4 separate regions of the Homo sapiens genome follow, and regions 2, 3 and 4 are each linked to region 1. Evidence: promoter capture Hi-C in 16 types of primary human blood cells and fetal thymus (Javierre and others, 2016). All regions are on one chromosome and are shown on one strand. The core of a region is centred on a gene start or on the middle of the fragment in contact, and the rest is flanking DNA. Distances in the headings are between cores, read along the strand shown. Region 1 holds the start of LDB1 (LIM domain binding 1). Region 2 overlaps KCNIP2 (potassium voltage-gated channel interacting protein 2). Region 3 overlaps OGA (O-GlcNAcase). Region 4 holds the start of NPM3 (nucleophosmin/nucleoplasmin 3).

Region 1 (6,628 bases), core at 344-2,843:
ATTTCATGCTCCCTCAGCAAAAACCTAAGGTGGAGAGAAGAGGTCTCATAAACACTTTAAGCCTCCGCATTTGTAACCCTCCCCCAGCCAGTCAAGCCAGCTGTGCAGACTCTGAGCCAGAGTGAGGGAACCAAACAGCCTTCTCAACCAACACCCCTCTAAGTAACAAAGAGGAGAACCCCCTACCCAGTCAGGGCCAGACGCCCTAGGGAGGAGACACTAGTCCAAGTCTCCATCGTCTATCCCTGGAGCCCATACTGAAACTTAAGAAAGAAAAGCTAGCAGCTGGGGACCCCAGGAGGGAGGGGGTCAACTCTCTACTCCAGGCGGCTCCCCTCCCTTCCCTCCTCCTGGCTAATAGGTATTTCCTGTTTATGAGGCAGCTAAAGCTGAGCTTTTGGGAAGGGATGGAGATGGAGCCCCTCCCCTCCTAGGGCTGGGTTGGGGAGTCCTTGAAGTGTGACTGAAGGTTGGGAGGCTCCTCCCAGGGGAAGGAGTGTTCCTTACATTGACCATCCACATCATCTCCCATCCAACCCCCCACGGCCCACAGCCTCTGCCTCTCTGGGTTAGGGGGCACTGGAGGGGCCTGTTTCCTGTTCTCATCTCCGAAGCCCTCAAAGGACAGCAGCTTCCAGGCAGGGGGGTCGGAGGCGGTGGGGTTGGGCGGTTGGTACGGAGGTGAAGGCACCAAGGCTGGAGAAAGGGGGGAAGGGAAGAGAGTGTCTTGACTGATGCGTCAGTCTGCAAGAAGGAAGGATGGCCTCCTATCGCCCCTCCGTAATCCAATCTGGTGGTCATTCCGCAGCCCCCTCCCCCCAGCAAAACACAGATCCCAAGCCCTTAGGCGGAGGAGGGCGGGGACCCCACTTAATTAACCCTTTTAGTTCTAGTCCCAACTGGTTTCGCAGGCAAAGGAGGAGTGGTTAATTTAGGGAAGGGGTGAGTTGAGGGGTTGCTACAAGAATTAAGAGAATGCTTCTTTACCCATCCAGCCTAGGGTAGGGACGCGAAACAAGGGGCCTCCAGAAGAAGGCTGGCGTCTCAGCAGGGAGCACGGACAGGGGGTCTGCAGTCCCTTTTCCCTCCCGGAGCGCGGCCCGGGGTGGAGAGAGATACACCACACTGCCCACCCCGGCTCCGCCTCCCCCAGCCGCGGCTCCCGCTCCGGCTCAGCCAGACTCCCCATCCGGCGGCACCCGGAGGACGGACACCGAGCGCGCGGCTGCGCCTCCAAGCCCTCCCCTTCGCCCTCCCTCTCTGGGGTCTCTGCCTCCGTCTCCTTTTTTAAAAGCTGCGTCACATGCATGCCGTTCCCCGAGCGCTCCCAGCCCCTCGCCGCCCGCCCGCCGCGCGGCGCACGCACGTCGTCGCTTGCTGCGCGCTCTCCCGGGTCACTTTGACACGGCTCTCCCCTCCCACTAGCAGGACAATTAGCATATTAATAAAGCCCGGCCCTGCCCGGCTTGGGCTGGGGAGCCGGCGCCGGCGCGAGGGAGCGCGAGCGCGAGGGCGGAGAGGGGGGCGCTCGGCGACGGCGGCGGGAGCGCACAGACACGCACACGCACACGCGCACACACGCACACACGGACACACACTCCGCGGACTCACACCCGCGCGCACACACGCAGAGGCCGCTCGCCTTCCTGCCTGGCTTCCTTCCTGTCTGCTCCGCGCCTGACAGGCCCCTCGCCGCAGCCAGGGGCCGCCCGCACCGGGCCGAGGCCGGGCCGGGCCGGCGGCGAGCGCAGCGGGGGCCGCGGGCGGCGGCGGCGGCTCATGCCCGGCCTGTCCCCGCGAGGGGCGGGCACCGTGACTCGGCTGGGCCCCCAGAGGCGGGCGATGTGAAGATGTCAGTGGGCTGTGCCTGTCCTGGTGAGTGGGGCGTGCGGCCACTCGGCCCCTTCCTGCCCAGCCGTCCCTGCGGACCCCTCACCCCGTGTTTGGCGAGAACTTGTGTGGGGGGCGTCGATGGCATGGGGGAAGCCGGGGGCTGGAAGGGCTACGCGGGGCCTCAGGCTGGCGGGTAGCGTTTTCCCCAACTGTGTAAATGCGCAGCAGCCCAGAAACACGGGGAGGAGACGCTGGGGGTGGCTTATGTGTATGTTTTTTTGGGGGTAGGCTAATTGGGGAGAGGTTTGGGGGGGGCTGAAATTCTCAGAATTCCAGGTTGTTAGCCAATCAGAAGTGACTCTGGACTTTTGACCCCCCCCCTCAGGTCACCATAGAGTTGTGATTGGCTGGTTTGGGCTGCCCCCCCTTCCCTGCTGCCCATTGCCTCTTACCTATCCTGTGACATCCCCCCCATGCTGTTTCTGAGGACCCTGTTTGCAGGGAGGTATTGATTGCGGCCCATCTTGCCCCCCACCTTCAACTTTTCCTGCCTGTTGCCAGGGAAGGTTGGCCCTCCTGAGGCACCGGAGGTACTCCTAAGAGGTGCCAGATAATTGGACCCTTGGGTCTGGCATCTCCGCCCTAGTGGGAGGGCAGGCTAGGAAATAGAGTGATTTGTGGAGAGGTAAGCTGGGGGAGCAATACTTGACCCAAAACTGAGAACTTGAGAGAGGACCCAGGCTCAGATCCCTGCCTCCCCAAAACATATCAGCTCTTGCCAGGGATAGCCTAGGTCTGAGTTTTTTTCCTGGGGGGCAGGTGGGGGGGGCGGAGGGCGTCTACCTCACTGCCAGGAGGAAAGAGAGAAGCCATGCGACTGGAGAGGTAGTCTACAGAGGGCCTCACGGCACACTGTCTGTCTCCATCCCCGGGACTCTGGGTCCTGGAATTGGCCCTCCTGCCCCAGACTGGAGTCAGCTTTCTCCTGGAAGTCAGTGTCCCTGAATGTAGCCCGCTTTGGCTACATACTTCACAGCTGGACACCCACCACTCCCCCACAAATCCCCAAGGGAAGCTGCCAGTGCGGAAGCTTCCTTGAAAATCATGTGACCCAGGCCAAGCTGGGCTGGGCACACACTTCAGGTGCCTGCTGAGGCTGATGTCTAAGGGGCATGGGTCCCAGAAGGAGGAATAAGAGAACCTAACAATCCTAGAATATCCGAGTATGGGAACCACTGGCTCCTGCTGCAGAGGGTTGGGGAGAGGAGAGGGAAGAGCTTGCCAAGCTGGAATCCTGTCTGGCCCCGTCGTCCCTCTTTCTACCAGCTTGGTGTACATGTTTATGTTGTGGATTTTCTCCTTTATAATTGACCCATGCTGGGTACCCCTTTCAGATCCATCATGTTCTTAGCCCACCCCAGGGCCCTGACCCTCCATCAACACACATGAGCAGAGCAGTTAAACTAAGGATCTGAACAAGCTAGAGGGATGAGTCTTAAATTGTGATTCTTAGTTCCTACAAATAGTGGGTAAGCGGGTATGTATGTATGGAGGGGTTGTCAGGCTGGAGGTGGATGGGAGGTTGGCCCTGAAGTTGGGGCAGGGTGCCTGGGTCCAGTGGGAGGAGAGAGAAAATCTCTTCTTCTTAGTCTCTGGGAGCAGCATGGGAACAGGAAGAGGGCCCAAGCCCAGGGGTTTGTGGGTGGGTGGGAAGACAACTTCAGTCAATGCCCCAGAAGGCATGTTCCTTTTGTGTCTGGTGGTCTGACTGAGGGAGAGAGGGCAAAAGATAGGGAAGAGTGGGGAGTCTTTTTCCAGATCATGAAGAAGTCTTATAGATTGATGCCAAAGAGGGTGGATGGAGGTTAGACTTCAAGGAGAACCACATGGGGAGGGCTTCAGAGTAGACTGGAGGTGGGGAATAGTAGCAGTTGAGGTTAGAGAGGGGACCTGGCTTGCAGCTTGCTTGGATGGGGGAGCACATGCTTGAACACAAGGAAGGCATGGCAGCATGTAGCAGTCCAGGCCCAAAGATTTCCCCCACCTTGAGCAGCCCTGGGGTGAGGGCTGAGGCGCCCTGGCAGGCCGCCTGCCGCCTGCCTGCCTGCCTGTCTGAGTCTCTCCTTTGTGTTCTGCTGTCTCCGGGCTCCTCCTCCTCCCCCAGCCCGGCAGAGACAGCACATGCCCCACACATGTGACTGAGGGAAGCCAGAGCGCACACAGACCCACACACATGCACACGCAGAAGCACCACAAGATACACACATACACATGCCCAACACCCATATTGCTCCTGGGGTGAGGACCAGCTTCTGGGGCTGGAATGGCTGGGAGCAGGGAGAGCCTCTGACTAAGGGGCATCACCCTGAGCAAGAGGCTGAGGGGGCCAGGGCCTGTCTGGGGCAGCATGTGGCTCAGAAGGGTTAAGGCAGGGAGGAGTAGGGGGAGGGGAGGAGGCAGCAGTGGTGGCGGCTGGGAGCCAGGAGAGGAGGATGGCAGAGCGCCAGGCCAACGGGAGGCCGGGCACAGACAAAGGAAGGGGGGCAGGCACACTGGAGGCCTGGGTCAGGGAGCCCCAGGGGCCCGGGCAGGGGGCAGTGCTGGTACCTCATCCTGTGGGCTGGGGCTGGCTGCTGTCCTTTGAGTCCCCACCTCCAGGAGGAGTACTTTCCCTCATCATCTTTGTCATTATTTGCTGCTCCCTCCACCTCACCACCAATTCTAAGGCCTTCTAACTCAGACTTGCTCTTTTTAGCTGGACCTGTTCTGCCCCTGTGCAACTGGGTAAATCTGGTCAGAGCAGAGAAAGGAGCAGACTTGCTAGAGAATAACTAGAAGGCCTGTTTTGAATGGTTTGCCAGTCGATACATCTTGGCATTTAGGGGCCCCTCCACCCCACAGCGAGACTGGAGGGCCCTTGTAGTCCCTCCTGTCTGAGGAGACAGGGTGGGTGTGGGGTTCTGAGCTCTGGGCTGGAGGCAAAAGCCAGAGCACATTTCCCCCTCCCCATGAGGACAGTGATTTGAGGCCTGGAGGGGGAAGGGAGTAGGAATGGCTGCAGGGCTTGGCTTGTATCTGGTGGGTTTAGAAGTGCAGGGTTCAACCCCCCCACCCCCCAGCCCACCCTGGTCATCCTGTCTCAGTGGGTTCTGTTAGGATCTCACTGTTAGGATATTTGGCCCTATGTGCTATGAGGATCTCTTGAGGTACTGCCTGTGAATGCACTTTGGAAAGTTTAAAGGCAGTGGGGGAGAAGTGGGACTACCCCAGAGTTAAGCTGTAAATTTGGGAGTCAGTGGGAGTGTCTTAAGTCCTGGTGATAGGCTGTATGTTGCAGGGTCTGGCTGAATGTTATAGATTTCAGTATGTTTGTGAAAGCTGGGGTTTATTCTATGGCCAGGCTGTGATGAGGAATGGTACGCAGGCTTCAGAGAGGGTGATTTATAGGTTAAGTCCTTGCATAATAAATGATCGGGGTGTGTATGTGATAGGCTGTCACAGGTTTAGGGGTTATAACACAGTTTTGGTGTGTGTATTGAGGTCAGGATGCGTGTCATAGGTCCCAGTGTGTATGACTTAGACTGTGTGTGTGTGTATATATCCAGGATTTGGGTATATTTAGGATTTGAGATATATCACAGGTTGATGGCCAGACGCGGTGGCTCACATCTGTAATACTAGCACTTTGGGAGGCCAAGGTGGGTGGATCACCTGAGGTCAGGCGTTCGAGACCAGCCTGGCCAACATAGTGAAACCTGTCTCTACTAAAAATACAAAAATTAGCTGGGTGTGGTGGCATGCACCTGTAATCTCAGCTACTCAGGAGGCTGAGGCAGGAGAATCGCTTGAACCCAGGAGCTGGAGGTTGCAGTGAGCCGAGATCGCGCCACTGCACTCCAGCCTAAGCAACAGAGCGAGACTCCGTCTTGGAAAAAAGATATATCACAGGTTGAAATGTGTATCAGGTAGTGATTTATGTGAAAGTGAGATGTGTTATTTATGTGGAAGATGTTCACAGAGCCAGGTGCAATATTACTGCACAGTTAACTAGTGAGTATGTCATAAGAAATCCTGTCCTTGGAGTTATGTGTGAATATAGTTGGGGGTAGGAGACAGGAAGTAGAGAAACAGACACTCAAATTGCAAAGAAGGAAATAGAAGGTTCGTGCTCCCCCTTCCCGTGTGTGTGTGTGTGTTTGTGTGTGTGTGTGTGTACTATGTATTTTCCTTTTCCTATTTGTCCACGAGTAAGGTCTGGCCCACTACCCAAGTTTTAGAAATATTCCCTCCTGCTACAACAAAATTACCTTAGGAAAAAAAATAGAAATATCTGCTCCCTTGGGATGCCCTGCTGGATGGGAGAACAGGTCCTATCCACTAACCACACGTTTTTTTTTCTGGGGTGGTGGGGAGGATTCAGCAGCAAACTAAGCTCCTTCTGGGGACCCTTGGATGGCCAAGTTGGCTTTCCCTAGCTCTGACAATGCCTCTTTCCCTGGCACCCACTTGTCTTCAGTGGTGGTGGGGAAGGGGGCTTCCTGTTAAGGGGGATCTAAGTCAAGGCTTGGAATTTAGCTGGGTTGGGGGCAGGGAAGCCTGGAGTGTCCCCCTTCCTCCAATCAGTGTTTACAGTCTGATGTCAGAATGTGTGTCTGTCAAAAATAACCCCCTGGAGCCTCTCCCCCCAGCTGCTCCAGGATTTCACCAGGGGAGCCCAGGCTGGCAGTCCGGGCCAGCCTTCAACCTGAGCGATCACAGGGGCGAGAAAGATTTGGGGGAGGTTTGGGAGGTGCTT
Region 2 (7,066 bases), core at 2,430-4,929, 290 kb after region 1:
CTATTTAAAAATATAAAAATCAGCTGGGCGTGGTGGTGCACGCCTGTAATCCCAGCTATTCGGTGGCTGAGGCACGAGAATCGCTAGCGCCACCGCACTTTAGCCTGGGTGATAGAACGAGACTCTGTCTCAAAAAAAAAAAAAAAAAAAAAGAGAAAAAAAAGCCTGTGTGAAGCGTCATCTTCCCACCTCTTCCCTGGATGGGGCAGGTCGGGGAGAAGGAAGGTGTATGGTACTGTGTGAGGTTGGACGCGTGCCCCCCGGTGGTGGCTGTATAGAACTGCAGATCAGCCAACCTCGACTGGGGCCTTAGGGACTGGCCCCCACCCCACAAATTGGGCTGAGACACAGTCATCCCAGAGCTGGACAAGAGGGAGGGCTCCTTCTGGGGCCAATCCCCCTAAATTGGGCCTCCTGGCTGGGCCAGCTTTCTAAGAAGGGAGCCAGTGTAGTGTGGTGGTTTAGAGTGAAGGCTGAGTCAGACTGGGTTAAAATTGAAGCTCTGATCTTGAAGATTTGCTTAACTTCTCTTTGACTTAGTTTCACCACCTGTAATATGAGGATAATAGTATGCCTTCATAGGCTTATTGTGAAAATTCGGTGTTACAACACCTGTAAGCACATAGTGCATTATCTAGTACATAGTGAATGCTCAGTCACCGTTAGCCAGCAGCGGTAGTAATGGTGTTACTAACCCAGAGGCCCTAGTCTTGTGGCTCATTGGCTCTGTAGGCCTCTCCCCACCCCTTTACACACACAAACACCCCACCAAGAAGAAGCAGGGAAGAGGAGGGAGGGACTCCGGGGATGCTGGCTGGGAGGGGTGGCTCCCTTAGAAGGTTCAGATTTCCCTCCTACAGCAGCTGGGCTTCTCCATCAGCTCAATAACAGTTCCTAAGGAGCAGGCAGGGCTTTAGCATCTCCCGGATGAGGTCCCAGCCACATACGGAGCCAGCACAGTCCCCCCTCCTCTCCCAAGAAGCTTGGGTTTCTTGACCCCAAAGGCAGCTGCAGTAAGTCCCCTCCCCAGAGGGTCCTGATGGGGTTAAGTGGCCTTTTTCTGCCTAGGCTACTACTGTATCTTATCCCCCCTCCCTTGGGCCTCAGTTTCACTGCCTGTGGCCTGTGGGAAGAGAGTGCTTCCCTCCTCACAGTCTCCATGGCAACCAAATCGATATTGGTGATATCCTCCTAGCAGGAGAGGTCACTGCCTTCTCCGCCATTATTCTCATACAATTCCATGCCAATACAATGACAAAACAGTAGACCCACCCTCCAAATTATACAACACATCCATACCTAACAAACTTCAGACCCACATCCTACAACCCTACTAAAACACAGGAACCTCACTCCCCATGCACACTCACAAATACTTCAACACACTCCTACACATGCAGACCATAGACACCCAGCTCACATACCCATATACGCAAGAGTCAAAATGCATAACCATACGCCAAACACACACCTCTGTGACAGGTGCACAGTCACGTGTAAGCACACAAAGACACACATAAGAGGAGACATATGCACTGCCATACTGACAAACACAGGAATATACACACAGGAAAACACCTGGCCACCACAACATATTCTGACCCATGCATCTGATTACTTATACATGTGCAGATGGTGGTTTCTCATGCACATACACCCTGCCCTTCCCTGCCTTCTCCCTAAGCTCAGCTCCTCCCTCTGCCCCTTCCCTTTGGCACAGAGTAGCCACAGGATGTCTAGGGGAAGCACTTCTCAGGGACAGAGGCGGGTCACTGCTCCCTCCCTCTGGCCCATATCTTGGCCAAAAGTTCCCAAGGAGGTGCCAGTCCAAAGGCTGAGGTGGCCCTGCGAAGAGGAAGAGGCGGCGGCTGTGGTTGGGAGGCTTGTGGGGCAGAGGCGGGGTGATGGGGGAGAGGAAGGAGATCCTGGGAGGGAGAGTGGGAGGGAGGCTGCAGGCAGTCCTACTCAGGCTGGGGAGTCTGAGGGGGAGGTGGTGTGAGGCGGTGAACCGGCGTATCTGAACCTGGGCCCTGTAGGGGCCATGCCCCAGGCCCACCATGAACCTGGAAGGGCTGGAGATGGTTGCTGTGCTCGTGGTCCTCGCTCTGTTTGTCAAGGTCCTGGAGCAGTTTGGCCTCTTTGAGCCTGTCTCCTTGGAAGGTAATCCAGGTGTCCTGGCATGTCTGAGCTGCTGGCTGGTGGGGCAGCTGCCCCACAGCACTAGGGAGGGTGTTTGTCTGTCTTCATGACTGGGGCAGGGATGAGCAGGTGAGTGATGGCACAGGGATCTGGGAGGTGAGTAGGGGTGCTTGGGGGATACAACATCTGGGAGGGGTGAAGAGGAGGCCTCAAGGAGTAGATATGGAGGGAGGAGGGAATCTGGGGGACCAAGGTGTCAGGAGGTGATGAGGGGTGCAGTGTGGGAGGACTGGGGTGTGGAGATGAGGAGGTGAGGGGATTCTGGGCGATACCAGGAGGGGTCTGGAGATAGGGAAGGAGTGTCTAGAGTAGAGGAGGGAGGTTCTAGGGATCCTGAGATAACAACGGATTTCTGGGGGGTCCTTTTTGGAGTCAGGGGCCCACCACGGTGCCTGTGCATCCTCTCCACACCTCCATCTGTGCAGTGTAGCTTATGGGGTGTGTGGGCATAGTGTGTGAGAGACACAGGGTGTGACTTTGTGTTCCTGTATGTGAGAGAGTACAAAGTGTGTAACTGTGAGCCTGTGTATGGGACAGGGATATGACTGTATGTGTGAGAGTGACAGGGCATGTGGCTTTGTGAGAAGGTGGATGTGGCCAGGCCTGAGTGGCACAGTATGTGGCTGAGCCTCTGGGTATCAGGTTGTGCATGTGGCTGTTTCCAGAATTTCCTGAGGATATACCAGCTCCATACCCAAGGCTTGGGAGGAGGTGGGTTCTGGAGGGAAGAGTGTGAACATTGTGAAGGAGACATTTATAGCCCAGCTATGATTGGGGATGAGGAGTGGATCAGATCAGGGACCCTGCTTCCCAAGTCCCCTTGCCTCTCCAAGCTCCTATCAGGATCCAAGTGCAGAGTGATCTCCAGGGCCTAGACATTGGGAGTGGAAAATCAACTCCCCTCCCCAGCCCACCCCAAAGTCAGTAGGGAGAGTAATATTGGGGTGGAGTGGGGAGCACTTCTGCCTCCCCCTTGGGAGTTTTGACCTCTCCCTCCTCTTCACGGCTAGAACTGTGTAACTCCGTAGCATGGCTGTTCCCCAGTACCACCAGGGACAGGAAGACAGACTAGAACCATGATGGAGGACTGCAGGGTAGATACCTGGAAGAACTGGAAAAATATGAAGGAAACTGGGAACAAGAGGAAGGTGCATGAATTGCCTGCTCTAGGGTTCAGTAAGAGCAGAAAACTCCTAGCTCACCCTCCATCCTCTGCTGCATTTATTGGGGTGGAGTGGGGAACAGGGAGTTGGACCTAGATAAACTGGGACAGCTGGGCTGAGCTTGTTCTCATTCAATCTGGAAAAGGTGAAGTTGATTGAGCTCTAACTTGCCATTCCTTTTAGATGGGAAAGGGGGAAGAGAGGGCATCTGGAAATCCCAGGAGTCTTGGGCTGAAGGCAGCCATTCTGTTCTCACCTTTAGAGGAGACAGAGGCTTAGAAGCAGGTAGGGGGCTGGGGTGGGGGGCAGGAGAGCCACCCCCGAGTCGGGCAACTACACCATTGGAGGCCCCAGGCGCAATCCAGCTTTGGGAAACTAGAGTCCAGGCTAATGGAGCCCTGGGCCAGAGGCCAGGAATGCCATCGATCCCCCTGCCTGGCCCACTGCCTCCCTCCCACCTCTCCATGGCTCCTGGGGTGGGAGGGAGGTAAGGATGTGTTGAAGGAGAGGAGGTGGTTACTCACCCAGTCACCTCCTGAGAACAGGGCCTGATCTGGAGGGTGAAGCCTGGATTGGGAGGGTGGGGTATATGGAGGGGGAGTAACCTTTAACTAAAGGAAGTTGGACCCCTCCAGGAATGGACTGAGGCCAACTTTAGTCACTGTGTCAGATCCAGTGGGATCTGATCCAGGAATCTGGATGCAGTGCAGCTGGGAGACACAGACACACACACACACACACACACACACACACACACACACACACACAGTAACACTGAGGGTCCTCTGGGGGTGCAATTAGAGCTGTAGAGCATGTGCAGAAATAAGGGAGAAGAGGGGAAGGGGAGCCATGATCAGTGGGCCATGGATAGCCCCACAATACACCAGAATACTCGCCTCCAAGATCTCTTATTGCCACAAAGTTTACTATTATTTCACCCTCAAAGAGCAAGCCATACTGGAAGAGACTGTGAAGGGGCCACAGTTTAGGGTAGATGAGTTAGCTGATGAGGAACCCTGCCCTTTGGCAGAAAGATTCTGGGCACCTTGGAATGAGGAGGGGTTACAGGAAAGAAAAGTGGGTGTACCCAGGAAAAATGAAGCCTCTGTGGGTGAGGTATTGAGGTACAGCCTTAGATATCTGGGTGCCATGGGGACCCAGGTCACAGTATGATATGGATATGTGTCATGACAACCTTGATATGTCTCATAATGTTATAAGGTCACAATGTCATAGTGTTCTTTGTAGACTCACATGTCATGATGTCCCAGAGGCATTGTGTGTTCTTGTGTGGTTTGATCATGCTGTGTGTGAGATGGCCTATATGGGTCTCCATGTGTATGCATCCTGTTTTACTTAGGTCACATTTGTATATGTTTGTGTTAAGGAGTTAGCAGGTCATTGTGTGTGTGTGTGTGAGCATGCATATTACGCCATCAGGTGTGAGTTACTGGATATCAAGCTGTCACTGGCACCCATCACTGTGATGTATTGTTCTACATGTCACTATACACGCCTGTCACTGTAGGTGTGTGTATGAGAGAGGTGTTCTTACCCAGGCAATCCTTGGGTTGGACATCATCCTGAGAGGTCCAGCCATGGCACTTGAGCCAAGGGTACTAGGTCAGCAAAGACACTGAGGCCACTGCCACCTCATCCTTGCCGCCTCGCTGTCACCGGCCACGTCCCATTAAACCAAGTGCCTGAGCCTCACCTCTATGGACTCACTGGGCTCCCCTAACCCGATTCCAACCACCCTTGCCATTCCTTTCCTCCCCTTAATTCCTCCCCCAGCCCGGTCCCCAGATGGGGTTGATTTGTGACTGGCGGGGAGGGGACAGGGAACAGAGGGACAATGGGAGTTAATGTGCCTTCCTGGGGTCTTCTCTCTTCCCAGGCCACCCTCCAGGGCCCACTAAAAAAGCGCTGAAGCAGCGATTCCTCAAGCTGCTGCCGTGCTGCGGGCCCCAAGCCCTGCCCTCAGTCAGTGAAAGCAAGTGCCTCTCATGTGCTTCCGGGGGCGGGGCTCGATGTGTGCGTGCGTGTCTGTGCATGAGTGTGTGCGCGTGTGCCCCAGGCCTGCGAGTGTGCGCATGCTCCAGGCCTGCATGTGTGGGGGGGCGTGCCCCAGGCCTGCGTGTGTGGGGGTGGGGCCTGCCCCAGGCCTGTGCGTGTGTATGTGTGTGCATGTGCGCGCGAGCGTGCCCCAGGCCGGCGTGTGTGTGTGGGGGGGCGTGCCCTACCCCTGCATGTGTGTGGAGGGCGTGCCCCAGGCCCGCGCGCGTGTGTGTGTGTATGGGGAGGCGTGCCGCACGCCTGCGTGTGGGGGAGGGGCGTGCCCCAGGCCTGCGTGCGTGTGTGTGTGTGTGTGTGTGTGTGTGTGGGCGTGACCAGCGTGGCGAGGGCGGGTGCTGGCAAGGCTGGAGCATAAGGGGGCGTGGCTACTGTGTGCGTGTGCGGCTGAAGCCAGCGTGTGTGGGCGTGGTCAGTTGGGAGCGGGTGTGTGTCACCGCTCCCGCAAAACTGTGGGACCCGAGAGTGTGGGTGTGACCATTGTGACCAGGCTGAGGCCTGAGCCTGTGTAGCTGTGGCGGCCTGTGTAGACCAGGCGGCCGTGAGGGTCTGTATGTGGCTTAGCTGGGTTAGTGTCTTCAACTCCGTGCGGCCGCCCCCTTCCCCACCGTGTTTTGGACCCCTGATGTGTGTTGCCTATGCCCCGACAGGATGGTGACAGGTGTAGAGGATGGCGCCTGCCCTCCTCCAGACGCCAGGGTATTTGGGTTTTCTGTGCCAGCCTGGTCCCCTGCTGAGTGATCTCCAGTTGAGTGACCTCGCTTTGTCTCTAGGTCTCCATTTCCTCAGTTGGGCCTTGCCCACCTCATAGGATCATACTGCATTTTGCAAACCATAAAGGCCCGCTTTGTAGTTATTTGAGCATGCTGTTGTGTTGGACTTAGATGGGTCCCACACGGGGGTGGATTCGGAAAAGGACAGGCGTGAGTCCCGCAAGCTTGTGTGCATGGGGTCCGTTTCGTGTGTGTCTGTGCTGGTTGGGTGTGCCTTTGCACGGGCTGGGTTGTGAGGTTTGCTCTGAGTGTGAGGGGCCAGGTGTGTGTCTGCAGTTGGCCGGGTCTTCCGCTTTCTCGGTGACAGTTCGCTCCCTTCAGCATTAGCCGCCCCAGCCTCCCTCCGCCCCCACAGACCCCGCCTGCTGGACCCAGGTGACTTACGCTCCTGGTGGGGGCGGGGCGGGGCAGGGCGGCTTTGCCATCTTGGGGTGGGGGGCACTTGCCTGGGGGCTGGACGTTGGGGGCGGGGCAGGATTGAGATGGGGCCGGGGGTGGGGTCTGGATGGAGGTTGGCTGAGCTGGGCGGGGCATGGCTCAGGCATGGCTGGGATAGATGGGGCTGGGCGGGGCGAGGGGAGGGGCTGGGTGGGACGAGGGGAGGGTTTGGGCGGGGCAAGGCTGGGGCTGGGCGGATCTGAGTTGGTCCCCGAAGGCCCGGAGCTCTGACCCTCAGACGCCCCCTCTTGAACTGGCTTTTCCCACTCCTCCCTTTCTAAAACGAAGATGCGGCTGGGGGCCTTCCCCTCCAACGAGGGATCGAGGGCCGCGGGGCGAGCACTGAGTCGGATCCCTGGCTCTGGGGCCAGGCCAGGCCTTGGCCCGCTGATAGACCTCGAAGATGGCCATCATCTTTTC
Region 3 (7,224 bases), core at 99-2,598, 300 kb after region 1:
GGAAAATCGGCCCACACTGACGTGCTTGTACTTCTGGAGTGAAGAGAAGCACGTTTGGCCTATAGTATTTCAAGTTCCACTTGGCTTAGAATATTTTTGTTGCTTCCCCCCACCCCCGCAAAGATTCATTTGCAACTTAGAAAATTGCCCTCTTTCCCAGCTACTGTACTTTGCTCTCGAGGGATGAAACTTTGGCTTTAATCACAGATTCTCGAAGTATCTGAGATGCGTAATTGGAATTTAGTGACCGCAGAAGCGGCTTTAAAAATGCCCTTCTCGCCTTTTTTCCCATTTACAGTCGAAAAGAACGATGGACTTTTTGGTAGTGAGGGAAAATTACCAGATGCTTGTTTCAGTTTCTGGATGAGAATGGACAGATAGTCCACCTTGCAGCTCTGTAGAGGCACGAATCGGTTACATTATTAGTCTTTCCGCAGTTACAGCATGTATTTGAATTTTCTGAAGTATTTTGGCCGATTCAGAGTTTCCTAGATGTCTGTTTTATATCTCTCTCGTATGTAATGGCGTGGATAAGGGTAAAAAATATATATATTTAAAAAACCAAAAAGGTATGGAAAAAGGATTGCTCTCGACGTTGAGAACATCAGCTTTTCTGTTTTTTTTCACCATATAAATTAGAGTATTCTTTCGAAAAATGGGTGGTGGTTATGGTACAGACCATAACAGGCTACTTTGCTGCTACAGTAAGGCATGAAAGAGTTCAGCGAAGTTAACTGTCTTGCAGAATTTGGGGGATTACAGAATGGAAAACTGCTATATAGTATTCATCAAAAATGATTGCATTGTGTGACTTATATCGTTGTATTTATTGGCTTGAGTGCAGGGAGATTTTAGAAAAAGAATCTGGTTTTTGTTATCAAAGATCTTGGAGTGGGGATGAGAGAGTGCTGGGAAATTTCGGAGCTAGACTGGAATGAGTCTAAGGAAACTTGCCAGTCCATTATACCTTCAGTTATAAAAGGAGAAAACTCATTTGGTTTAAATTCGTTTGTTTAGAATAGCATTAAAAGGCGATTCTTCCTATTTAAAGAACAGAGTTGTCTGCCATTCTCTCGTTTATTCCTCCTCCCTCCCGTGCCCTTGTATATTTTCTTAGTGACTGAGCACCTGAGCCAGCACTGATTTTTTGTGTGTTTTGTTGTTTTTGTTTTGGGAGACGGAGTCTCGCTCTGTCGCCCAGGCTGGAGTGCAGTGGCGTGATCGCGGCTCACTGCAACCTCCGCCTCCCGGGTTCGAGCAATTCTCCTCCCTCACCCTCCCAAGTAGCTGGGACTGCAGACACGGGCCCGGCTAATTTTTTGTATTTTAGTAGAAACGGGTTTCACCGTGTTGCCCAGGCAGGTTTCCACCTACGGAGCTCAGGCAGTCCGCCCGCCTCGGTCTTCCAAAGTGCTAAGATTACAGGCGTGAACTACCGCGCCTGGCTTTTTTTTTTTTTTTTTTTTTTTTTTTCTCTCTTTTTGATACCTCTTGGTTGGCACCAGCCGTAAAATGAATGAGCATAGAAATACTATAGTTACTGCTAGGATTTCTTTTTTGTTTTCTTTCCATCACAAAACTCTCTTGGTTTTTAACTTACATTAACAGCATTGCTTCCTCTTTGTGGTGCCAGTCAACCGAAACCATGAACCTGACTCTCAAAAGAGCCAAGGTAGGGTTTCTAAAGATTAAAATGTTTAATTAAGCTAGACATTTGAAAAGTCTTTTTTTATATTGGAGCAACTCTGAAAGGATGTTTAATGCCTACTCCTTAAAAAAAAAATGATAATGCTAAGTGCCGTAGGGATGCTAAAGACTTGTATAGGTCTGCCTGATCAAGAATATTTTATATTGGCCGGGCGCGGTGGCTCACGCCTGTAATCCCAGCACTTTGGGAGGCCGAGGCGGGCGGATCACGAGGTCAGGAGATCGATACTAGCCTGGCCAACATGGCGAAACCCTGTCTCTACTAAAAATAGAAAAAATTAGCCGGGCGTGGTGGCGGGCTCCTGTAATCCCAACTACTCGGGAGGCTGAGACAGGAGAATCGCTTGAACCCGGGAGTTGGAGGCGTAGATTGCATTGAGCCGAGATAGTGCCACTGCACTCCAGCCTGGGCGACAGAGTGAGATTCCGCCTGAGAAAAAAAAAAAAGAATATTTTGTATCACTTGTGAGAGGCTAACATTAGATTGTCCAGATGAAAGTGCTACAGTTATACATTGGTATGTAATGAATTTTAATTTGGTCTGTCATTGTCCTTTTTGTGGTGCAGAGGAGTCATTCTGCCTAGAGATTGGAGCTAAAATACATTGCAGAAATTTGTTTTAGACTAGTCTCTTATGTAGATTGTGTGGGTTTATGTAGAACATTTTGTGTTCAGAATGCTTTTATTAACCTTCTTCATGGTACTCTTGAGAGGCTGTCCTTATCTCTTACTGATGATTAGACTGAGACAAGTGGAAAGTAAAGGTTAGACAAGATGTAAAGTGTGTGGTTTGAGCTGTGATGAGCACACTAGGGAGTTCCAGATACCAGTTTGATGCTTATTCAACCATTTAGGTTATCGGTCTGCGAGTTTGTTTTCTGCAGTGTGTGCATAACTAGTGTTTTGTCCTCTTAGAGGATACTCTGGGGACATTCTTGAGTTTTCTTTGTTTATTCCTTTCCGTTTAAGGACCAGAAGTAATATTCTTGAATTTTCATTTGTTCAGATCTTTGCTCTGTAATTAAGATTGCGTGAGAGTTTGTTGTTTGGGCCAGTTAGGCTGTTGAATTTCTTGGGAATGTGGTTTCAGGCATTTTTTGGTCCCTTTGATTATATCATTGTATGTGGAACTTTTTTTGAGAGAGAGAGTTTTGCTCTGTCACCTAGGCTGGAATGCAATGGCGCGGATCTTGGCTCACCGCAGCCTCCGCCTCCTGGATTCAAGCAGTTCTCCTGCCCTAGCCTCCCAAGTAACTGGAATTCCAGTCCTGGCCAGGAACTTTTTTTAAAAAAGAGGAGCACGATCATAAAATTAAGTCAGATTCTTTCCTAATCCTATCTCTGATTTGTTTTTAATTGCTTTACCTGTTTATCTCCCCTCACCCTTTTGTTGTTGTTGTTTGAGATGGAGTCTTGCTCTGTAGCCCAGGCTGTAGTGCAGTGACGCAGTCTCGGCTCACTGCAAGTCCGTCTCCCAGGTTCAAGTGATTGTTGTTTCTCAGCCTCCCAAATAGCTGGGATTACAGGCATTTGCCACCATACCTGGCTAATTTTTGTATTTTTAGTAGAGACATGGTTTCACCATGTTGGCCAGGCTGGGTCTGGAACTCCTGACCTCAAGTGATCTACCTGCCTCAGCCTCCCAAAGTGCTGGGATTACAGGCGTGGGTCACCTCACCCGGCCTCCCCTCACCCTTTCTAAAGCAGTTTTACTATCATTCTAGGAAGTAATTGTTACTGTTGGCAGCTTGTATTACATTGCTGCCGTTCCCCATTATAAGATTGAGATCTCTTAAAAAATTGGAATTAAATATATTTGGACTTTATCAACAGTGGAAAGATGATAGATGTTTGTTTTAAAATAACTATCACCTAAGTAACTAATGTCATGGTAGAAAAAATAAAAAAAATTACCTAAGCAAAAATGGAATAAAAGTCACCTTGTAACGTCACCACCCAAAGATTAAAGGAACCTTAGTATTTTATTAAATATCCTTCCGATTTGGTGTATTTTATGCTTTTTACAAAATAGGATTGTATTATATGTTTTGTAACTTGCTTTTCTCAATAAAGCTTACCACATTTTAAAACTGAATATAATTTCATTCTTACTTTGAATCTAGGATTTTATGGAAGACCTTGGGTTATGGAACAGAGAAAAGAACTCTTTAGAAGGTAAATCTTCATTATATGAAGGAGAGAGGAGAACCTTAAACTCTTAACATTTTCTTTTGTTTGAAGAAATACTAACAGTGAATAGCCCAGGTGCATTTTGATGGTTTCTCAATTGCAGAAGTTATTTTACCTTGGTCCCTTTTTTCTTCACCTAGGCCTTTGATTTTCAAACTTTTCCTGGGGAGCTGAATAAGTTTTGGGCTTCACCTTACCCAGAGCTGTTGTGTTTTTTAAGAGTGTTTTGTATGTTGGCATACATTGTAATACTTAATTTTTTTAAATTCCACTGATTACAAAAAGGTTAAAAGCTACTGTCATAGAATATTAGCTTTGTATGAGATGGAGATGCTCCAAGAAGAGGGAAATGGAGATTGACAGCCTATGAATGTTGCCTGTTTATACATATGTAATTTTCTTTCTCCTTAAGGCTCCAGAAATGGGAATTAAATACATACTTGTATGCCCCAAAAGATGACTACAAACATAGGATGTTTTGGCGAGAGATGTATTCAGTGGAGGAAGCTGGTAATCTTTTTCTTTTTATCCATAAATTCAAAATCTGTGAAGAAAACGGTTATATTTTAAATGTAGTTGTACAAGAATTTTATGACATTTTATTTTTATTTTGTAGGTAGTTTCCTTTTCTTCTATCTGGTAACTATTCAGTTAGCTGAGATTGAAAGAGTGCTCTGCGCTAGCAAGGTCATGACCATATGTGTGATATCATGGGCGTGCTAGGCTGACTCCATCTGTTCTGTGGTCATAGATTGTGCTGCTTACTTCTGCCAGTGGATTAAACAGTGGGCCACTGGGCAAAGAAGTGCTGGAGCTGGGCTAGGCCCAGGGCAAGGCAAGTGAGGCACGTACCTTGGGTGCAAATTTTAAGGGACCCCCAAAAAGTAATCAACATAAATAATATTTTATGCAATTTTTTTAAAAAACCAAAATTAATGCAGAAATTCATGATGTACACAATGCTAAAATTTTAGGTAAAGACAGGATCAGCACTACTGATTGTTCCTTTTGCTTCAGGCTCTAGTATGGCTTGGCCTTGTCAGCAGTTACTGGTCCTTAAACCCTAGTCCAGGAAAGTGGGAAGCCATTAATAGGCTGTCTTTGGGTTTTGTTTTGTTTTGTTTTGTTTTTTGAGACAGAGTCTTGCTCTGTCCCCCAGGCTGGAGTGCAGTGGTGCGATCTCGGCTAACTGCAAACCTCGCCCTCCCGAGTTCAAGAGATTCTGCTGCCTCAGCCTCCCAAAGTGCTGGGATTACAGGCTTGAGCTCCTGTGCCCGGCCGGCCTGCTATGGGTATACTTAACGTTGAGTTGGTTACATAAAATTGATAAAAAGTAGTATAGCATTGAACCGCCAAATTAGAGAGGTGCTTTTCTTTGGGAACTTGTAAATGGTGAAACATTTTTGTACTTGAAATTAAATGGTATACGCATATAGCTAACAAGATATTTGGTTACAGAGCCCAGCCAAGGCACAGAAGGCTGAAAGTTTTCTTGAATTACAAAGAAGCAATTACAGCTTACCCCATCTCCATCTAGTGTTGTGGTTTACTACTCTATTTAAGTGTGCCTTCAACTTAATTACTTTCTGGTGGTGCTGGTAATGAAACTTAATGTGATCAATAATCAAAATAGAGTAAAAATGACTATCTTGAGATACTACTGAAAATTATTCAAAAATATGTCTTATAGTATATACTAGTAGTAGTTAAGTTGATTTAGGAAAATTGTCAATTGATAATTTTAAAAGGTTAAAATCTATAATTAATGTTTTTCCCATAGATAGAAACAGGTCAAGATTGTTAAGGCCATGACTTAACTCTGGTTCTTTTTCTTTTTCTTTTTTTGGAGACAGCGTTTGTCACTTTGTTACCCAGGCTGGAGTGCAGTGACTCACTGCAATTTTGATCTCCCCGGCTCAAGCAATCCTCCCGCCTCAGTCCCCCAAGTAGCTGGGACTACAAGCGCGGGTCACCACACCCAGCTAATTTTTGTATATTTTGTAGAGAGAGGGGTTTGCCATGTTGCCTGTGCTGGTCTCAAACTCCTGAACTCAAGCAGTCAACTTGCCGTGGCCTCTCAAAGTGCTGGGATTACAGGTGTGATTCATTTTTTTTTTTTTTTTTTTTTTTTTTCATTTTTTTTCATTTTTTGAGATGGAGTCTTGCTGTGTCGTCCAGACTGGGGTGCAGTGGTGCGATCTTGGCTCACTGCAACCTCTGCCTCCAGGGTTCAAGCAATTCTCCTGCCTCAGCCTCCCTAGTAGTTGGGATTACAAGTATGCGCCACCACGCCTGGCTAATTTTTGTATTTTTAGTAGAGATGGGGTTTCACAATGTTGACCAGGCTGGTCTCAAACTCCTGACCTCAGGCAGTCCTCCTGCCTGGCCTCCCAAAGTCCTGGGGTTACAGGCATGAGCCATTGGGCCTGGCCTACCCTGATTCTTAAGAAAGCATTTTCTTTCTTTCATATTATAAAGTAGTTATGTGTAGGTTTATTTAGTTAGGAATTCCAGCTGTTCAGAGATGGCAAAACAAAAAAAAAAAGCAAGATCCAGTACCATGGCTCATGCCTGCAATCCCAACACTGTAAGAGGCTAAGGCAGGCGGATCACTTGAGGCCAGGAGTTCGAGACCAGCCTGGGCAATATGGCAAAACCCTCATCTCTACTAAACAAAAATTAGCCGGGTATGCCTGTAATCCCACCTACTCAGGAGGTGGAGGTTGCAGTGAGTCAGGATCGTGCCACTGCACTCCAGCCTTGGGCAACAGAGCAAGGCTCTCAAAATAAAAAAGCAGCGGCTGCATTTTATGCCTTTCAAATGCTGCAGGAAATAGAAATGGCTTAAGTTCAGTAAGAGAATTGACAATTCAGTGTTTTTGAGAAGTGGCAATGAAAGGGAGGAAAATGTTTATTGATTTTAGCCTGTTTCCCCAAAAGGATAAGAAACTATTTGGAAGTGAAAAAGAAGGGCCTCTTATTTTCTGTTGGTTCAGATTTCAAAGGTGTGAAAACTATTCTTTTTCCCTTACTGTGACATTAAATCACTTCAGGCTTGTACCATTTTGTATGGCCTGTTGTTAAGTTGGACATGACAATTTGTAAAATGTGAGGATCTTTTCCTTTCTTGTAAGTTAGAAGAAATAACCTCTTCAGTTAAACCTTCAGTGAAGGTTCTTTTAGTTTTCTGTTCTGCTTTCTAAAAACATAGACTCTGTTCTTTAGAGCAACTTATGACTCTCATCTCTGCTGCACGAGAATATGAGATAGAGTTCATCTATGCGATCTCACCTGGATTGGATATCACTTTTTCTAACCCCAAGGAAG
Region 4 (6,986 bases), core at 3,471-5,970, 340 kb after region 1:
TTTATTTCTATATTTTACCTTCTGCCCTTAGTCACATGGCTGTGTAACAAGAGGCTGGTTTGGTGTTGCCTCGCTTACTTGGGATTACACTGACACTATGCTGGTGATTGAGCTGCTGATGTATTGCTGTTCCACATCTGACACTTTTCAGCATAAGAACTTTTTAAAAATTGTGGTAAAATATAAATAACATAAAATTTGCACATTTTCATGTAAGGAATACGTTAATTTAAAATATTTTATGTATTTTAAATGATTTTAGATTTACAGAAAAGTTGCAGAGTTAAAACAGAGTTTCTGTATACTCCTTATCCATTTTCTGTATTGGTGAAGTCTAAGTAACCAACATGGGTATATTATTAATCAGACACCAAACTTTATTCACCAGTTTTTTCTGCTAATGTCCTTTTCCTGTTCCAGGATCCAATACCACATAGCATTTAGACAAAATTTTTTTTTTTTTTTTTGAGACGGAGTTTCCCTCTGTCGCCTGGGGTGGAGTGCAATGGTGCGATCTCGGCTCACTGCAACCTCCGCCTCCCAGGTTCAAGTGATTCTCCTGCCTCAGCCTCCCGAGTAGTCGGGATTACAGGCGCCCACCACTAGGCCCAGCCAATTTTTGTATTTTTACTAGATACGGGGTTTCACGATGTTGGCCAGGCTGGTCTCAAACTCCTGACCTTGTGATTCACCTGTCTCGGCCTCCCAAAGTTCTGGGATTACAAGTGTGAGTGAGCCACCACGCCTGGCCAGAAAACTTTTTTTTTTTTTTTTTTTTTTCCCCGCCCAGGCTGGAGTGCGGTGGCAGGATCTCAGCCTACTGCAACCTCTGCCTCCCGGGTTCAAGCAATTCTCCTGCCTCAGCTTCCCGAGTTGCTGGGACTACAGGCGCACGCCGCCATGACTGGCTAATTTTTTATGTTTTTAGTAGAGACAGGGTTTTACTTTGTTGCCCAGGCTGGTCACAAACTCCTGAGCTCAGGCAGTCTGCCTGCCTCAGCCTCCTAAAGTGCTAGGATTACAGGCGTGAGCTACTAGACCCAACCCAAACTTTTTTTTTTTTTTTTTTTTAAGACAGAGTCTCGCTCTGTTGCCCAGGCTGGAGTGCAGTGGCGCCATCTCAGCTCACTGCAAGCTCCGCCTCCTGGGTTCACGCCATTCTCTTGCCTCAGCCTCCCGAGTAGCTGGGACTACAGGTGCCCGCCAACACGACCTAATTTTTTGTATTTTTTTTTAGTAGAGACAGGGTTTCACTGTGTCAGCCAGGATGGTCTTGATCTCTGGCCCAAGCTTTTAAAAGTGAAAACGGTGGCCAGGCACGGCAGCACACACTTGTAATTCTAGCACTTCAGGAGGCCGAGATAGAAGGATCACTCGAGCCCAGGAATTCGAGACCAGCCCTGACGATATAAATAGGGAAAGAGAGAGAGAGAGAGAGAGAGCGCGTGCACGCGAGGGAGAATGCCTGCCCCTCTCCAGCCTGGCCAACAGAAGGAGATCCTGTCTCAAAGAAAGTGAAAATGCTTCAGCTAGAATTATAGGATAATCCTGTGTGAGATAATTTACATAGTGACTGGAAGAGTTATTAAATATTGCTTTCTTGTTGCTAAGTTCTGTAGTTGGGTTAGATATCTAATGCGTAACTATTGTGAAAGTCAAGAGATTCTAATTTTTCCAGAAAATAATGTTGAGTTTCCATGAAGAACAGGAAGTACTGCCAGAAACTTTCCTTGCTAATTTCCCTTCTCTGATAAAGATGGACATTCACAAAAAAGTAACTGACCCAAGTGTGGCCAAAAGCATGATGGCTTGCCTCCTGTCTTCACTGAAGGCTAATGGTGAGTACATATTTGTGGAGTTGGTGGTATTTGGGCAAGATAGGGAAAGAACTATATATTTTTGGATATAAAAGGAAAGAAGTGAATTGTAAATTTATACTGCTTTTCCCACCTTTTATGATTTGGTTTCTGAATTAATTAGTGGTGAAGAATCGCATGTGTATTAATAATTGAGAAATGCTGGTTGGGCTTAGTGGCTCATGCTTGTAATCCTAGCACTTCGGGAGGCCGAAGTGGGAGGATCACTTGAGTCCAGGAGTTTGAGACCAGCCTGAGCAATATGGCTGAGACCCCATCTCTACCTAATTTAAAAAAAAAAAAAAAAAAGGCCGGGCACGGTGGCTCACGCAGCACTTTGGGAGGCCGAAGTGGGCGGATCATGAGGTCAAGAGATCGAGACCAGCCTGGCCAACATGGTGAAACCCTGTCTCTACTAAGAGTGGTGGCAGGCGCCTGTAATCCCAGCTACTCGGGAGGCTGAGGCAGGAGACTTGCTTGAAGCCGGGAGGCGGAGGTTGCAGTGAGCCGTGATCTTGCCACTGGACTCCAACAGAGCAAGATTCTGTCTCGGGTGCGGGGGAAGCTGGGTGCAGTGGCTCACGCCACTCATTATTGAATTTTTTGAATATGAATTTTTTTAATTGTGTGAAATGTAGGAGCTGGTGTAGACAGACAAGCCCTGTTTATATTAACCATCTCGAAGATTATAGTTTTATATCTATAATTATACTAATTAAGTGACTTATTTATGTTTTGAATATTTGTTTTATTTCTAGGCTCCCGGGGAGCTTTCTGTGAAGTGAGACCAGATGATAAAAGAATTCTGGAATTTTACAGCAAGTTAGGATGTTTTGAAATTGCAAAAATGGAAGGATTTCCAAAGGATGTGGTTATACTTGGTCGGAGCCTGTGACATTTGTTGACACTGTGAACTGTCCAAAAGTCTCTTAACTGCACCTTGTGAATGGTAGTTGAGGTCTTCATACAGTTCAGCCTCTAGAATGGTAACAAATCAGCCAATTGGATTCGAAACAAAGAAGACTATGTAAAACTCACCCATCACACTTTGAGACTACTCACTGGTTGGAAGAATATAGTATTGCAGCAAATCCTGTATGAAAGAGAGATGTGGGCTTCCTTTTTGAGTCTTGTGTTAGGTGCTGAGACCTTTTACATGGGCTTATACAGGGAGAGAGTCTTCAATAAATGTAGTCAGCACTATTTTCTGCATCCAGTGTGGTTGCGTTTCTCACCTGAGAGTAATCAAGATAACATCTGTCATCTTCCTTGGTTTATTGAGTGAAATGCCTCTCAGTCTTAGGGGACATGGCAGAGATGAAAGAAAGAAAGAGTGGGTTTCAGAAGTGTCAGGGTGGAGTGATTCCAAGTGGGATGGTTGTGGCATTAGTTTAAGCTGAATAAATAATTTCAATTTGGGGCAGTTATTCTGCTTTTTGTAAAGCCGTGGCCAATTGTCTCCTGTAATGACTGTTGGTTCAGGCATGTTGTACTTTGTAGGGACAAATGTGCATTTGTTTGTGGCAAAAGCCTACAATTGACAAACTTGTAAATTTCTTTGTATATAAACTAGCTGTAACCTGACTATCCTTTGTGTTTACTGTTTTTGTAAATTTTTTTCCTCTATAAATGAAAGGGTGTTGGTTCAGAATGGCACTTTGAATAATGTAAACCAGTGAAAAGTGGATTTTCTTTACTTTTGTCTTTGGGTTTGGGGTTGTTTTTGTTCTTTTTGAAGTTTTATTATTTTTAAAGTGCCTCCCACCTAGGCGTAGGCCATGACCATTTGGGGTACGAGAGCCTAATTTTGTAGGACTTAATCTGTTGAAAAGTGCAGTTACTTCTGGAAATTAACCTCAATATTAGGTCAGCATGTGAAATGTTGGATTTGACATGTCAGGTAGGGTTCAGGGACTGATTGGTCCCATTTGCCCTCAGGTCAGTTGTTTAATCTCAAGACCTGTTACTACTGATTTTATTAAATCAGAGTCTTTAATTCTTGCATGTTTGTATCTAATTTCTGAATGAATGAGCACACTTTAACCAGTTATTTACAGTTACCTTTTTCCTTTAACCGGATTGTGAAAGCTTCATGTATTTTAATTTAGATTCTGTGTTTTTAAGGGTTCTGAGCATGAAGCTGGCAGATAGTCGGCAGGACTCATTTTTTCATCATGGCTGGCTGATTTCTCCATAGATTGATAACAGTATTTTGTTATCTTGCTTCTCTGTAGTTTTGCATCAGCTGTTTAACTTTGAGCTGAGTGAGGGGAGAGGGGTAAAGAGAAAGAAACTTAAGTTTTCTTTCACAGAACTCCACCATTGTGGGCTTTGAGAGAGCCCTAAAGCATTGTACCTAGTGGTACCTAGTGACTTCCAACCAAAGCCTTTGAGTATGCACTAAATAGGTGAGAAGAAAGGAGAGAAGGTTTTTAGGTTAGAAACCTTTAACCGATAGAAGGATATGGTATGTTGTAAAGCTGGAACCAAGTTTGCATTTTTGAGGGCTTGAGATGAAGGGAAGACTCTTACCAGATAGTAAGACAGCTGAGTTTTCCTCAGTTTTCTCGTCTTAACACTAGTGGACAATTCTAGCATTTTGTTTGGAGGATTTCAGAGTTAACCTCATGGAATTCAGGATTTTTTAGCAAGTTTGCTTTTGGTTTTATCTTGGCTTTTAGTAATCATGTTGGCTGGTCTGGTCACAGGTGACTGTGAAACAGATGCCCTGGTCTTGCTTTCATCACTCTAGGATCATGAAGTGCTATGCTATTTCCTGGTTATGAATATTAAGGTTGGAATTACATTTTTATTGATTGTTTGGATCAGAGCTCAGTTCCTGTAGAAAACGAACTGTAAAAGACCATGCAAGAGGCAAAATAAAACTTGAAGTGAATGCTTGTCGTGTTGTATTGTGTGAATCTATTTCCTGTCTGCCCCCTCCCTTTTCTCCTCTTTCATGCCTCACCTACAAGCAGGTATTCTCTCCTCTCCACAGCTGTTCCAAGTTAGAGATTGGATCTTGAAGGCAGCCCTCCCCTACCTCCATCACCAGTAAGACTTCCAGATTTTCATTAAGACAAGAGCTAAGAAAAGTAGACTAGTTTTTAGCCAAGCCACCCCACCCTCTTGCCACAGTTATAACCTGGATGTGAAATAGGGCCTCTAGTTTGAGTTTTGCCATCTATTAGGATAGAAAGCACACAGTTTGCCTGATTCTTAAAAGGCGAAAGATGGCGCGAGTAGCATAAACTGACAAAATAATCCACGGCGCAAAGATACTCCTGGATGATTTGGAATTAAAAGCTCAAAAAGCGTGGGTGGGCCAGGAACAGCCAACACACATGAGCTAACTAGTCCTCTGCTAGCAAGTGCCAGCAGCTAAGTCTCAGTGAAGGCATAGCAAGTTGCGGGGTCTTTAGAGCAGGAAGAATTAAGAGAGGCTTAGCCGAGAGGACAGACAGGACAGACGTGTTGGGATGGAAATTCCTAAGGCTCCTCGGCTCTCTTGAGGCAAAGACAATCTGAGTGCATTTCCTTTGCTTGTAGCAGAAAAGCACTGCCCTGAACCCCACCTTTGCTGGGAGGAGTAAGAAGGGTTTACATTTTTATATCTATAACTCCTTTAACGAAAGCTTACCCTGGGTTGGAAGAGTGGGAGACACTCTTCCGACACAGAGCGAGGAGCTTGGGGAAGTGGACACCCTCATGGTCGTGGAAATGAGCAAGGATGTTAACATAAACCCCAAATCCATTCTTCTGTGATGTTACTTCCTTTCTCTTCGGTCTTGATAAAATATGAGCAGAAGCTGCGGGCTCCGGGTAGGGCTGCGGGGTCTCGGCGCCTTTTCTTTTCCAGGACTGTGCGTCTCCTTTAATGGGCGGGGCCGGAACTGGCCGAGGGTCCCCGGCTTTGTGCGTGTCGGGGGCGGAGTTTGAAGAAGGCTCTTACAGCATGGCCGCCGGTACTGCAGCTGCCTTAGCGTTTTTGAGTCAGGAGAGCCGAACGCGGGCCGGGGGTGTCGGGGGCCTACGGGTCCCGGCCCCGGTCACTATGGACAGTTTTTTCTTCGGTATTAGTGAAGGGAGAGGCTGAGGGTGGTACTGGGGCGGTAAGAGGTAGGGATGTGAGGCGGGAATGCGGAGGGTTTCAAGGCGTGGGTGTGGGCGGAGGGCTGCTTCGCTGTTCCCGCAGGAGAGGGGGCCTCGCACGCACAGCCAAAGGGGGTGGCGAGATCCCTGCCCCAGATGTGTTGGGCGGGGCCCACGGCAGAGCGTCCCAGGTGTTCTGAGAGAAGAGACGGAGGTGGACGTGTAAATGACCCGTCCGCCCAAGGTTACACGTGACGGCGGGTTGGTGACATCCCCCGCTGCCCAGCCCCGTACACACGCTCAGGCATACTCACTGTTATTTCTACCAGGCTGTGAGCTCTCCGGCCACACCCGCTCCTTCACCTTTAAGGTAGAGGAAGAGGATGATGCGGAGCACGTGCTGGCACTAACCATGGTGAGGGGCAGGGGAGTGGGGTTTTAATGAATAAGCCCAGGCAGGCAATATAGGTCTCTACCCAACCTCCGGATCCCCTTTACTTGGAGACACATCCTCAGCCTAACCCCCCGGCATGGGCGGCTCCCCTGGCCAGGTGAACCGGGACCTCTGAGGCTGGGCAGGTGCTAGGGTAGATGCCTTTAGTTGTGGTGTCAACCCTCACTTGAGGAGACCCTGAGGCCCTGTGTACCGTTCCCAGCTCTGCCTCACCGAGGGAGCCAAAGACGAGTGTAATGTGGTAGAAGTTGTGGCCCGGAACCATGACCATCAGGAGATCGCAGTCCCTGTGGCCAACCTCAAGCTGTCCTGCCAACCCATGGTGAGTTCCCCAGCTCTGCCTTGGTGGTGGTGGTGGTGGTGGTGAGGGGATTGAGGACGTTAGCACTCATTACAGTGTGGGGTGGGCTAGGAGTGGGCCAGGCCTTCATCCTTGTCTTCCTCCCAGCTCAGTCTGGATGACTTCCAGCTCCAACCACCTGTAACCTTCCGCCTGAAGTCGGGCTCTGGCCCTGTGCGGATCACTGGGCGGCACCAGATTGGTGAGAAGAGGGGAGGGCCCTCTCCTTTGCTTCCAGTGGACT

What was found. The method cuts DNA at HindIII sites, captures the fragments that hold promoters and counts their contacts. A CHiCAGO score of 5 or more calls a contact.
Region 2: a fragment that was not itself captured here is called in contact with the fragment with the promoter of LDB1 in region 1 in 4 of 17 cell types (naive B cells, megakaryocytes, erythroblasts and 1 more); the score reaches 7.8 in naive B cells.
Region 3: a contact is called between a fragment that was not itself captured here and the fragment with the promoter of LDB1 in region 1, in 13 of 17 cell types (erythroblasts, megakaryocytes, fetal thymus and 10 more). The highest score is 14.8, in erythroblasts.
Region 4: a contact is called between a fragment that was not itself captured here and the fragment with the promoter of LDB1 in region 1, in 1 of 17 cell types (total B cells). The highest score is 5.6, in total B cells.

Annotation. Positions count from the first base shown.
Region 1 is chr10:102,115,333-102,121,960 of GRCh38, reverse strand. It overlaps LDB1 (LIM domain binding 1), which reads left to right and starts at 1,593. Exons shown (of 11, transcript NM_001113407.3): 1 at 1,593-1,875. The coding sequence starts at 1,851. It also overlaps a transcript of PPRC1 not described here. RefSeq lists enhancers at 1-203, 204-955, 956-1,707, 3,413-4,114, 4,115-4,817 and silencers at 1,204-1,333, 1,354-1,653, 1,714-1,793, 1,884-1,953, 4,287-4,526. The HindIII fragment of the contact is 3,755 bases long and covers 1-2,925 here.
Region 2 is chr10:101,829,361-101,836,426 of GRCh38, reverse strand. KCNIP2 (potassium voltage-gated channel interacting protein 2) reads left to right here. Exons shown (of 10, transcript NM_173191.3): 2 at 5,260-5,355; 3 at 6,530-6,583. Among named protein-coding and RNA genes, the nearest start is that of KCNIP2, 11 kb to the left of the region's middle. RefSeq lists silencers at 182-311, 141-435, 5,723-5,802, 6,593-6,692, 6,813-6,862 and enhancers at 141-435, 5,071-5,587. The HindIII fragment of the contact is 5,390 bases long and covers 985-6,374 here.
Region 3 is chr10:101,810,213-101,817,436 of GRCh38, reverse strand. It overlaps OGA (O-GlcNAcase), which reads left to right. Exons shown (of 16, transcript NM_012215.5): 2 at 3,831-3,882; 3 at 4,310-4,407; 4 at 7,123-7,224. Among named protein-coding and RNA genes, the nearest start is that of OGA, 4.6 kb to the left of the region's middle. The HindIII fragment of the contact is 4,868 bases long and covers 1-3,782 here.
Region 4 is chr10:101,782,216-101,789,201 of GRCh38, reverse strand. NPM3 (nucleophosmin/nucleoplasmin 3) reads left to right here and starts at 5,756. Exons shown (of 6, transcript NM_006993.3): 1 at 5,756-5,929; 2 at 6,278-6,363; 3 at 6,605-6,724; 4 at 6,851-6,944. The coding sequence starts at 5,812. It overlaps OGA (O-GlcNAcase), which reads left to right. Exons shown (of 16, transcript NM_012215.5): 15 at 1,679-1,838; 16 at 2,615-4,752. The coding sequence ends at 2,751. RefSeq lists an enhancer at 6,189-6,828. The HindIII fragment of the contact is 1,547 bases long and covers 3,947-5,493 here.